Regions from separate parts of the Homo sapiens genome. Here region 1 is linked to region 2. The links are contacts of gene promoters, found by promoter capture Hi-C in human tissues and cell types (Jung and others, 2019). All regions are on one chromosome and are shown on one strand. Each heading gives the region's core, a stretch centred on a gene start or on the middle of the fragment in contact. The rest is flanking DNA. Distances are from core to core; before and after follow the strand shown.

Region 1 (6,687 bases), core at 1,836-4,335, 430 kb before region 2:
CAGACCCTGTCTCAAAACAAAAAAAGAAGGAGAAGGCCGCCTTGCCTATGACAGGTAAATTATAGATAGAAAATATGGGGATCTCTCTGACGACTTTAGAACAATTTTTGTTTTTTAAAGACAAGGTTTCGCTCTGTCACCCAGGCTGGAGTGCAGTGGCATGATCATAGATCACGGGACTCACTGCAGTCTCAACCTCCAGGTTTAAGTGATCCTCCCACCTCAGCCTCACAAGTAGCTGGTACTACAGACACGTGCCACCATCCCTGGCTAATTTTCTTTTTTAACTTTTATTTTAGGTTCAGGAATACATGTACAGGTTTGTTATATAGGTAAACCCATGTCACGAGGGTTTGTTGTACAGATTATTTCATCATGCCAGTACTAAGCCTAATACCCAACAGTTATTTTTTCTGCTCCTCTCCCTCCTCTCACCCTCTACCCTCAAGTAGGCCCCAGTGTGTGTTGTTCTCCTCTTTGTGTCCATTGGTTCTCTTTATTCAGCTCTTACTTATCGGTGAGAACATGTAGTATTCGGTTTTCTGTTCCTGAATTAGTTTGCGAAGAATAATGACCTCCAGCTCCATCCATGCTCCTGCAAAGCATACGATTTCATTCTTTTTAATGGCTGAATAGTATTCCATGGTGTATATCTACCACTTAAAATGTGGTAGACTGGTCTGCCATTCACGGGCATTTAGGTTGATTCCATGTCTTTGCTATTGTGAATAGTGATGCAATGAACACACACGCATATGTCTTTATGACACAACGATTTGTATTCCTTTGGGTATATATCCAGTAATGAGACTGTTGGGTTAAAAAGTTCCATTTTTAGCTCTTTCAAGAATCCCCACACTGCTTTCCACAATGGCTGAACTAATTTACACTCCCACCAACAATGTATAAGTGTTTCCTTTTCTTTGCAACCTCACCAGCCTCTGTTAGTTTTTTACTTTTTTATAATAGTCATTCTGACTGGTGCGAGATGGTATTTCACCGTGGTTTTGATTTGCATTTCTCTAATGATTAGTGATACTTAGATTTTTTTCATATGCTGGTTGGCCACATGTATGTCTTCTTTCAAAAAGTGTCTGTTGATGTCCTTTGCCCACTTTTTAATGGGGTTGTTTTTTTTTTTCTTGCAAATTTTTTAAGTTCCTTATACACGCTAGATATTAGATCTTTGTCGAATACATAGTTTGCAAAATTTTTCTCCCATTCTTTATGTTTTCTGTTTACTCTGTTGATAGTTTCTTTTGCTGTGCAGAAGCTCTTTAGTTTAATTAGATCCCATTTGTCAATTTTTGCTTTCGTTGTGATTGCTTTTGGCATCTCCGTAATGAAATCTTTGCCAGTTCCTATGTCCTGAATGGTATTGCCTAGGTTGCCCTCAATATAATAAGAGCCATCTATGACAAACCCACAGCCAGTATCATACCGAATGGGCAAAAGCTAGAAGCATTCCCCTTGAAAACTGGCACAAGGCAAGGATGACCTCTCTCACCACTCCTATTCAACACAGTACTGAAAGTCCTGGCCAGCGCAATCAGACAAGAGAAAGAAATAAAGGGCATCCTAATAGGAAGAAAGGAAGTCAAATTACCTCTGTTTGCAGACAACATGATTCTACATCTAGGAAACCCCACCGTCTCAGCCCAAAAGCTCCTTCAGCTAATAAACAACTTCAGCAAAGTTTCAGTATACAAAATCAATGGACAAAAATCAGTAGCATTTCTGTACACCAACAACAGCCAAGCTCAGAGCCAAATCAGGAAGGCAATACCATTCACAACTGCCACAAAAAGAATAAAATACTTAGGAACACAGCCAGCCAGAGAGGTGAAAGACCCCTGCAATGAGAATGCAAAGCACTCTTCAAAGAAATCAGAGATGACACAAACAAATGGAAAAAAAGTCCATCCTCATGGAGAAGAAGATTTAGAGGCTACTGATTAGGAGTTTCAGTGGAAAGTGGGGTCTGAAGCCAAATTGCAGAAGTCTGAGGTGTATGTATGCAGTAAGTAAAGAGACAGCAGATAATGAATCTTCTTTAGAACACAGAGCAATTGTTTTCCTTTTTTTTTTTTCATGGAAGGGAAAGCAAGTGTCTAATATATCATGACAGCCCCATGTTGTTCTCTAAACACTACTATGCATCCTGAATTTTCTTTGAATTTTGCACTCCACTTATTTTACGTTTGGGAGATACTAAATATTGTGTATCCTGGTTTTGCAAACTGAGAAAAGACTTGAGTGCAGGCAGAAAGGTCAGGGAAGAAAGAAAAGGTGTTAGGAGGGCATGGTTGAGCTGGGTTGCCACTATGGGCAACTGGAGCTGGGTCTCACTGAGAGCTTTGGAGGAACCCAGCAGAACACACTTCTGAGGATCATCCCTTGGAAGGGCTGGAAGGTGGGAAATGTATGCTGACGTTCAGTGGGTGCTGACTCCTGCCTCCAAGGACCAAGAGTTGCTCCTAAGGGCATTAACTCCCCTGGCACCTCCACAATGGCTAACTGCTGGCTGAGAAGGTACTTCTGCTCTAGAGAAAGACCGTTGGTAAGCTGAGAGAGTCCATGAGCCCTCGGGAAGGCATGCATGGGGACTGTCCACTATGCTGCAACAGAGGTGGCATAGTGCAGGGCACAGGCAGCATGCCAGTTCCATCTAAAACCTCCAACTTGGCTAATCCTGGAATCCCTGCTCCAGGAGGTGCCATGCTGACTTTGTGCTCTTTCATGTCCCCTGGCACATGGCAGGAAACGCACACACACCTGTTTGAAAAGCATAAACTTAGAAGCTGCATATGTTGGATTCTTTAAAGAAACAGATATCCAAACAGGTGGAAAAAGCCTAGGCCAGGCACAGTGGCTCACGCCTGTAATTCCAGCACTTTGGGAGGCTGAGGCGGGTGGATCACGAGGTCAGGAGATCGAGACCATCCTGGCTAACATGGTGAAGCCCCATCTCTACTGAAAATACAAAAAATTAGCCGGGTGTGGTGGCGGGCGCCTGTAGTCCCAGCTACTCGGGAGGCTGAGGCAGGAGAATGGCATGAACCCAGGAGGCGGAGCTTGCAGTGAGCCAAGATCATGCCAATGCACTCCAGCCTGGGCGACAGAGTGAGACTCCATCTCAAAAAAAAAAAAAAAAAGAAAGAAAAAAGAAAAAGCCTAGACCTTGCAAAAACTGATTCAGTCGAAGCTCAGCTTCCAAAAGTCCAGGCTGAGACAGGGAGGGCCAGGCGGACTTCACTTGGAGATGGAAAGGCAAAATATTGCCTCCAGCAGACATACAACATGGGAGCAGATGATCAGTTCTCCTACTGGTTCCTGCCTGTAATTGCAAAGCCAGGACCAAACCCATGCCTCCGAAAAGTGAATGGAGAAATGAATACTTCCATTGTAGATATCACTGAGACAAATACTTCCTTTGCTAAAAAGCCTAAGTGGTTAATAATTCATACTTTAAACACTGTCATAGTGTTAATACAATAGCACAGGGAAATCAGTGAGAAGTGACTGCATACCCAGTTCCAAACAAACAACTTGACTGTTTCCATACCATCCTCTCTCCATGCCCAGAGGTCCTATTCAGTTGACAGGCATTACACGTTTAACATGGCTCAAAGATCAGTGATGCCCTTGATGAGGGTTATCTTTCCATGTGAAGACTAGCCATGTTCCCTCCCTCAGTCGAAACTGAACTCTGCAGCATCAGGCATGTCCTTTCTTCTTTCTGATGGAACTCATAATGCTCTAAACCCTGTGGGACTCAAAACTTAGCTGTCACGTCAAGAACATCACCTGGAAACTTGTTAGAATACAGATTTTCTTCCACTCCCCAGACTTTATGAATCAGAAACTCTGGGAATAGGGCCCAGAAATCCGTGTTTTTTCGAGCCCTCTAGCAGAGTTGAATGCAATCTAACGTTTGAAACCCACTGCTCTAAATGAGACCCTAAGGAAGGACTCAGCCATGCTACAAAGGCCAGGTACTAGGCAACGGGGCAGGCACGAGAACACATAGGGAAGGCCAAATCCTCATTCTCATGATCTTGCATTCTAGGGAGGGTATTTGTGGGGACATGTAGGAGATGGGCACATATGCTAACTTTCAATAAAAAGTTGAGAAAGGTTGACCTCGGATCCTTGGATAACGCATGAATGTTTCAGGCATCAGATGGTACTAATTTAAGGATCTGGACTGAAAGCATGGAGTCCTTGTGGCTCTGAAAATCCCACAGGACAGTGGCTAAAATTCTAATTGTCAGGATAAGTTCTGTGGTTCTGAACTGACCTGTGGTTTCACAAGAGAAATACCCACAGCTGTAGAGGAAACCACGAAGATCTGGAAACTGCCTGCAGGGGTCAACAGCCGTAATATATTCTACAAACCATCTTAAGGAACCACAGAAAATCATCAAAAGGAAGAAAAATGCATTTCTTGGCTTGGAACTTATTGAATGTTTAAAATCAGGGAATGGACTGGGTAAGAAAGGAAAGACCTCGTGGGCTTTATTTCCATAGAGAAATGGTAGTTGGACTCTATATATTCATTTCCCACTAAGGCTATTTGATAACAGAATACCAAAGAGGAGTTTCTTTCAGAATATATCATTATTGCGTTTTGCATTTTGATTTCATTTTTTCATCTCAAAAGACTTCAGGAACTTATATACCTCTGCAAAAGCTTAACAATATTCATCTTTTTTGTTTAACAGATGTGCTTTTACAAAAGAAATGTTCAAGTAAGGAGAAAACTTCAATCGTCTAACTTTAGCTTTTTGATCATTACCCTTAAATTCGCTGCCTAGGAAACAGCAACAAGTAAGTCATCACTGTTATGAAGCAAAATTGTTTACATTTGGTTTAAGATCCGCCTCCTAAGGAAAGGGCTCCGGCGGCTCCTTTGCGTGCCTGGAGAGGCCTTCGCATGCGCCCTCTAGTGGGTGCTTGGAGCTCATAAGCAAAGGGTCATTTCCAAAGTCTACAGTGGAAATTGACGCTGATTTTCAAATCCAAAAATTGGTCTATCGCTATTCTCCCCAAAAGGGACATTTTTCTTAATCTGCTATAAACATAGTGAAAAGTTGTTACTTCATGGTAAATTATTAGCACGATATTTGAATAGTCATTACATTCATTAAACTATTCTTTAAAATTACAATTATAATGTTAGTACTTGCATTATACATCGTGTTTATATAGTACCATTAAAGTCAAATGGCATTTAATATTCACAGCATAAAAGATAAAAGTATCATATAGTGATATTAGGAGGAAAAATCCTCCTGGTATCATTAGGAGAAAAATTTCTTCTAATGGAAAAAACCTCCATTCCCCAACTTTAGCTTTTTCAGCACCATCACTTGTGCTCCGTGCCTCACCTCACCAGCCGCAGGAGAACCCAGCTCCTTCTGACGGGCCCTGTCTCCTGCACCACCAGTTGGAAGGCTTCATTCCCGGCAGCAGACAAGCAAGGCTTGCTCTAGTTCAGCATAAATAACTCCTTCTTTTACCCCACATCCCTTGGAGATTCCCTACCCCCACTTCTCTACTCTTCTCCACAAAACTTTCCACCTTCTGGCCTCACATTCTCTCTCGAACATGCTCTGGTGAAAGCAGTTTTCATCTTCATGGCTCAGCTAAAATGGCTCTTATCAAAAGCACCAACTACGTTCCTCTGGCCAAATGCAGCGCTCCATCTGGGCCCTTTTCTTACTTCCTAAGTGGTATCTGTGAACGCATTTGCCAATCTCCCTTTCTGTAACATCTAGTACTAACATCATGTGACACATAACAAAATTTTGGTCAATGAGAGACTGCATCTATGATGGTGGGCCCATAAGACAATAAGATACCATATTTTTACTCTACCTTTCCATGTTAAGATACACAAACACCATTGTGTCACAACTGCACATGCTGTGCAGGTTTGTAGCCTAGGAGCAATAGGCTATACTAGAAGTGTCCAATCTTTTGGCTTCCCTGGGCCACACTGGAAGAAGGATTGTCTTGGGTCACACATAAAATACACTAACACTAATGATAGCTGGTGAGCTAAAAAAAAAAAAATTGAAAAAAAATATGTGTTAAGAAAGTTTACAAGTTTGTGTTGGGCTGCATTCAAAGCCATCCTGGGCCACAAGTGGCCTGCAGCCAGCAGGTTGGACAAGCTAGTGCTGTATCAGGTTTGTGCAAGTTCACTCTTTGATGTTCACAAAATGACAAAACCTGTAAATGATGAATTTCTCGGAGTGTGTCCCCATCGTTAAGTAACGCATGACTGCATCGGAAACTTACCCAAGCTAAACTGTAACTCTAAATCGGCACACCCAAACCTGCTTCTCTCAGTCCATGTCACCACCGTCCTCCTGGACACTTAATGCCCCTCTTTCACTCACAAACATATTCCACCTAATAGCAAATCCCAGCAGCTTAACTGCCAAAAGAAACTCTGAGCCTTCCATCCCCTGCCGATTCCTATTGCTGACACCCCAGTGTAGCAGCAACACCTCCACCCTCAGCAGCTAGGACCACCTTAAAATAGAGATAAAATCTTATCATCTCCCAGTTCACAACCCCCCAGAGGCCACCAGTCTAATTAGGATGAAACACACCTCCCATGGCCAACAAGATGCTATATCTAGCGCTTCTCAGTCCACAACACCTGAAATCCCTCTG
Region 2 (6,305 bases), core at 3,806-6,305:
CATGGCAGTCTCACAAGTAATTATCCTGAAATGTCTACAGGTGTAGCCGTTGAGGAACACCGGTCTATGCCTAGAGGGAACATATTCTCTTTGAATTATAATCCTTTCCCAACTATACTCCCTCATCTTCCTAACAGGGCAAGAGCCATCCTCAAACAAGTGTCAGTCACATCCAAGAACACTCAAAACAGACTGTATTTGCACTTCACAGTTTGGAAAAATGTGTTCTAATAAATTCCCATTTGCTTCTCCCAATAACCCAATTAGTAATTGGGGAAGGTATCATTACCCTCATTTTACAGCCAGTAAGGAGACTGGATTAGCTAACCACCTAAGGTTTCTTAGTTCTATACATCTATGAATCCAGGAAGGAAAAAAATCCTGAAGCTTAGAAACATTTAAGTGACTTCTTCAGGATCACACCCATGAAGCAGCAGTGGTGGAGGTGCCCCAGATCAGGCTTTTTGTTAGCCAGCCCCTCTTAGCAACAGTGCGCTCCCCATGGAAACAAGATGCACCCACTGAAGTGAGGCCTCCCAGCACCATGAGAGGCTTCCCGAGAAGGACAGGGATGGCAGCCATTCCCACCAGGCAGGGTGCTTTCAGAGGACACACAGCAGGGAGGAAGGAAGAGGCCACAAGACCAGGCAGGCCGGATGCTTGATGAGCTAAACGAACCCTGGCAGTCAGTGGAGGGCAAGATGCCAACCAGAGGGTCCTCATATCCTGCCCTAGAATGCAAGGCTTCAGCCCACTTTTAGGCTGATCAAGATAAAGACTTCTTGCACATGAGAAGCATTTGGGGCAGCCTTCTCTGACATAATGTTTGGCTAGAGACTAGTCGTTTGTTTTGTTTTTAATGGGGTATTGTAGTACTGAAGACTAATAAGTAGACAGTGAGGATAGGAGTTTTGTTTATAGGCTCTCCCCCAAAAGATTTGAGGGTTCAGACTCGAGAGAACTTTGAGTCAACTAGGAGTTTTCAAAGGCTCCACAGGAACACGACATTTGCATGCAACACCCTGTTTAGTTTAACCCTAATCTTACCAGAGACATTTACTAGACTAATATCTTAGCAGCGTGGTGAGGCACTCTGCATTGTGGCCGAGCCAGACTGTGGCTTTGAGTCCAGGCTCTGCTACTCACCAGCTGGGTGACCCTGGCAGTTCCCTTAGCCTCTGTGTACAACCAGAAAACAGGCATGAAAATAACAGGATCTACTTCATGGAGTTGTGGCTTACTCTATGTGGTAAAGTACTCAAAACACACCATAAACTCATTGGCAATTATAATTTTGGCCAGTGTGGGGCATCTACCTAGGAATTGCACACACAAACAAAAACAATAAAAAAAAAGTTTTAGTTTCTTGCCTGTAATTACCCCCTTCCTTATCAATGTCAAACATAAAGGAAGAGAGGAGGTGATTTTGGCTATTTGACAAGTAATCGAAGCTATGAGGAGCTTTTCAAGTTACTTTTTAGGAATTTTAAAACTTACTTGGGATGAATTAGCATCTCAGCTCAAAGGAAAGACTTTTCCTATCTTCAAAATCAGTGGAGACTGGGTTCTGCCCTGCCTGGCATTACTTATGCTACCTAACCTCTCCAAATCTCCATTCCCCAATCTGGGCAAATATAAGGTCGTTTGACCTCATAGGGCTACCGTGAGGCTGAGATTTTATAAAGTGTTAAAAAAAATGGTTCACAACTGTGTTGTTGTTGGGTTTTTTTTTTTTTTTTTTTGAAACAGGGTCTCGCTCTGTCGCTCAGGCTGGAGTGCGGTGGCACAATCACGACTCGCTCCAGCCTAGACTTCCCGGGCTGAGGTGATTCTCCCACCTCAGCCTCCCAAGTAGCTGGGACTACAGGCACAAGCCACCACACACTCGGCTGATTGCTTTGTTTTTGTGGGTTTTTTTTTTGTATTTTTGGTAGAAACAGGGTTTTGCCATGTTGCCCAGGCTGGTTCTAAACTCCTGGACTCAAGCAGTCCACCTGCCTCAATCTCCCAAAGTGCTGTGATTACAGGCACGAGCCACCACGCCCAGTCCTGTCTTTATTTCCTCATCTTTAATTTTCTAGAATATAAAAGCCTTTTTCCCCTCCATCTTCTGTATAATCTGCTGCGTACACCTAACGGAAACGGGCACAATATTCCGCCGTACAGGAGCCCGGAACGGACCGACAAGAAGAGCCACCACAGGGATGTGAATGATAAAAACTGCTGTCCCAAAGCACTCAGAATGCAGCGTGCACTGTTTAGACCAGAAATGCTCTTTTGCCAAAAATGACCAATGTGTACGAGATTGGAAAGAAATCTTGTCCCAGTAACCTCAGGGCACACACATTCCAAGTTATGTTAGTTCCAAAGACATTGCACATATTTATAAATGTTCTTAGAAAAGGATTTCTAGGGGTAGCACCTTCCGCTGATTCTGCAAATCAACCATTCTTCTTTTTTTACAGATGAAGCCTCGTTCCAAGTCACACAGTAATATATGGAAAAGTTCTAGTTAAGGTTCTTAAGTTACTGGCCTCCTGCGATCTACTTTGCCACTAATGAACCTTGTGATTTGGGGTAGTTCCTCCTGATCTCACGTTAAACATGTTTACTGCAGCAGGATTCCTTGCCTGGGCTGAATGCCCCTTCTAGGTCACTTTCATCCCATCTTCTGCTTTCCCCACTTTTCTGAAATTGCCTATTTTATCCTCTGGAGCCTCTACTCCTCCCTACCTTGTGTTTGTTCTCTCTCTCACCCCCACACACATACACACCCTGTGTTGTGCAACACAGCAGCCATTAGCCACAGTGACTATCGAGTACTCCAAATGTGGCTAGTCCAAAATGAGATGTGATTTAGGCATAAAATACACACTAGACTTTGAAGGTTAAGTGATCTGGGGGTCCCGAGATTTTTCCTTTCACAAAGACATAGTAAAAAACATGGAATCTTCCATGAATAACTTTATATATTGGTTACATGTTGAAACAATAGTTTTAATATATTGTTAAATAAAATATATTATTAAAATTAATTTCACCGGTTTATTTTTTAATGTGGCTACCGGAACATTTTAAGTTACATATATAGCTCGCATCATATTAGTGCTGGACAATGCTGACCTGTACTGAAGGTTCTGTGAAGAATCTTTGGGTCATTTACCACTGTACTCCCTTTGCCCCCTCCCCACCCACTAGCACAACACCTGGCTCATAGTATGTACATAATCAATAAGTGTTGAAGCAGGGAAGTCTCTAAATCTCTCTATACATGTATTTCTTCATTGATACACTGTGAGTCTCTATTCACAAGATAATAAAAGTCAAGAAATTTATTACCCATTTTGAAAGGTAAAAAGTATATGAATATTACTGCTTTTGTTGAAAAGCATGAAAATAACGTTGATCCCTTAGGCAACCATCTGTATTCCTAAATATATTTTTTGAATTGTATTACACAAATACTATAAATTAAATGCTGAAAACGGTGGAGAGTGAACAGCTCAAGTGGGAAAACTAGAAACAGCCAAAGGAAAGCTGAGATACCACCACCAATGGGAAGGCAAACGGAGCCCACAGACTTATGATGACCATCTTTATTGTTCTGTTTTAATTTAAAAAGCAGAAGGCTCGTGGTGCTGATGGATTCCAGTGCTCATCGGAATATAATACAAGTATTTATCCAAGAGAGAGACAGTCTGTTTCCAAACTTGATCACTCGCCAAAAAAAAAAAAAAAAAAAAAGTGAATACAATTCTCTTTACCAAAATACCCCAGTATTGATATGCAGGTCCCAAACACACAATAGTTCTTTCACAAACTGGGTAACCAGGACACAATAAACACGACATGCGCACGTGAAAAGTTAGCTAGGTTTTCCCTGCCCTACCGTGAATCCGCATTTGCAACACTCCAGCCCCAACACCCAAACCACTGCTGACCCAGTGCTGAGGGACATGAAAAAAAACACAGCCACATTGCCATCCCCACCCAGTGTGGAAGCTGACGGCATGTAGAGATGTGGGTGGGTGGAGCGCAATGAAAAAGTGAAGCAGAAAGACGACTCATCTAATCCAGGACCATTCAAAGACCCGTAAAAAGGTACTTGTCTTTGTTGCGGGCTTTGTAAAGTCTTGTCAATCCTTCCTCGAAACCAGCCAAGTACCAAGTAACAAAATCCTTAACCCTGTGGTTCACATGAATACACCCCGGCAACTCTCAGCTGCCAGAGCTGGAATCTGGCAACTTCCCTGGACGGGAAAGGCTAGCCCACCGCCCGGGAAGTGAGGTGCGGGCAACAAAAGAACACAGGGTGGGGCCCAGAAACGGACGGGACAAATGGAGCAACACAGATTTTCCAGAAGGCCTCATCAGCGCAAGCAGCCAGCAACAGGTTGCCCTTGTTGCAGAAGTCACATAACCTAATCAACTCTGAATCTTTTCTCTCCTCCCCACTATCTAGAAACAGCTCAGGACTTAGGACTCTGTTAACTTCTCTGTCCACAAGAAAAACTTCTCTGTGCTCACAGGCACACACACAGAATCTGAGGAGAAAGAGGAAATTACAGAGGACACCCGTTTACTAATGATGTGGGGGGGGCGGTGGTGGCTTCAAGAGCGTAGTTTGGGAGCGAAGAGGAGGGCAAAAAAGAAGCCACATCCATTCGGAGCTCAGCTGACCTCTCGGCAGAACAAGTGTCAACGCTTTCAAAGGGCGCGGCTTGTTTCAGCCACGAAAACGCACCGGCTGGCAAGGCAGGCGGCTGGGGGCTGCCTACCCGGAAGCCGGGTGGGGTGGGGGCGGGAACACCTCCGAACCCCGACTCCGCGGTCGCCGCCCAGGCGCGCCGCCCCTCCCTCCGCGCCCGTCCCCACCGCGGGAAAGGGCACCCCGGGCTCGAGTCGTCGGGCAGCCGACGCCGGCGAGACGGCAGGGCGTCGGAGCGGAGGCAAACCCAGCGCGAACGAGGGAAGACGTTACCTTGTTCATCCCATTCCCCATGGTGGCTGAAGGCGAACGCTAGCGCCCCGGCCGTGTGGTCGCAGGCGCACTATGGCATGTTACAGGGAGGAGGAGCGGCGGGGCGGGCGGGGAGGAGGCGCGCGGGAGGGACTGAGTGCTCGCAGTGTCAACAAGTCAGCGGCAGGGACCGGCCGGGCAACCCAGGGCGCTCCAGAGACCCGGCGTGGAGGGCAGGGCTTTCTGTGCGGCGGCCTAGAACTTCCCGGCGGGAGCCGGGCAGGGGCACCGGAGCCTATGCCGGGAAATGGTCCCGCCTTGCCGGTCCCCGCCCCCGTGCGCACCGGGCAGGCCCAGCGTCCCTCCTCGCTCCGCCCGCCCGCACCCTGGGATTCGTAGTCGGGTTCCTGGCTGCCGCGCCCCACTCCGCCCTCGCGGACCCCGGCTCGCGGCCGCCGGGCGTGGGAGGCACTAGGCTCGGGCTCCCAGGCGGCCGGCCCCGGAGGCCAGAGCGCGTGCGCGGCCCGAGCCGCCCCGCCGGGACACCCGAGGCTGCGCGGCGGGGCCTGGCGGACGCGCAGGCGCTGCCCTGACCGGGCGGCTGCGCTCGTCTCGGAGCCCGCTCCCCGGCCGGGGGTCTCCAGATCCCCCTTTGGCCTTTTCCCCTGGGGCGACTCCGGGGGCCAGTTACCAGCAGTCGCTACCCAGCCTTGGCTGCCTCCGTGAATCAGGTGCTAATCAGAGGCCTGGTCTCTGGGGGCTCCCCTGCCTGGGTTTTCTGAGTGCGGCAGATTTAGGCTGGGGGATTTCCTGCGGCCCTGCCCCATGCACCAAGACCGAGAAGCCTCGCCTGGTGGGGAGAGGTGGGCTACGTGACTCACCCCGGGGAGGCCCGACCTCCCTACCCTGGGGGAGCAGATGGCTGGATCTCTGACCTCAGACCTCACGGCCTTAGATGATGTGTGTCCCTTAATGTCTGCATTGTGGTTCTGTCTGGAATGGATCAATTTCTAAACTGTAGCAGAATTGTTTTGGGTGTTCTATCAACGTTATTAAACTCTGAAGTTTCTCTCCAGCGACAGAATCCTTGAGCCAGTGGTTTTTCTTCTTAATTTATGTATCCTCAACAATGTCCTGAACATAGTAGGTGCTTAATAAATATTTGCTGAATGAGTACATGCGTCAATCTGACGTGCCCTGGCTCACCCCTGCTGACTTCATTTTATCTTCTTGCTAAGCGAGTTACACACATGCTGGTCTCCTGTCTGTTCCTTGAGCCTGTCAGGCTTGCTGGGCTGTGCTCTCTATCCAGACACCTGGATCCCCAGCTCTCTGCATACCTGCC

Evidence for each region. Contacts are between HindIII fragments. The study calls those that stand out against the background at their distance.
Region 1: a fragment that was not itself captured here is called in contact with the fragment with the promoter of DUSP22 in region 2 in 1 of the 25 tissues and cell types used here (mesendoderm cells).

The regions. Positions count from the first base shown.
Region 1 is chr6:720,432-727,118 of GRCh38, reverse strand. No RefSeq gene overlaps it. Among named protein-coding and RNA genes, the nearest start is that of EXOC2, 31 kb to the right of the region's middle. RefSeq lists a silencer at 4,937-5,016. The HindIII fragment of the contact is 7,049 bases long and covers 1-6,609 here.
Region 2 is chr6:291,237-297,541 of GRCh38, reverse strand. DUSP22 (dual specificity phosphatase 22) reads right to left here and starts at 5,055. Exons shown (of 7, transcript NM_001286555.3): 1 at 4,982-5,055. The coding sequence starts at 5,002. RefSeq lists enhancers at 736-895, 4,323-4,582, 4,875-5,375, 5,376-5,876, 5,803-6,092 and silencers at 3,763-3,822, 3,833-3,892, 3,772-3,928, 4,673-5,692. The HindIII fragment of the contact is 13,317 bases long and covers 1-6,305 here.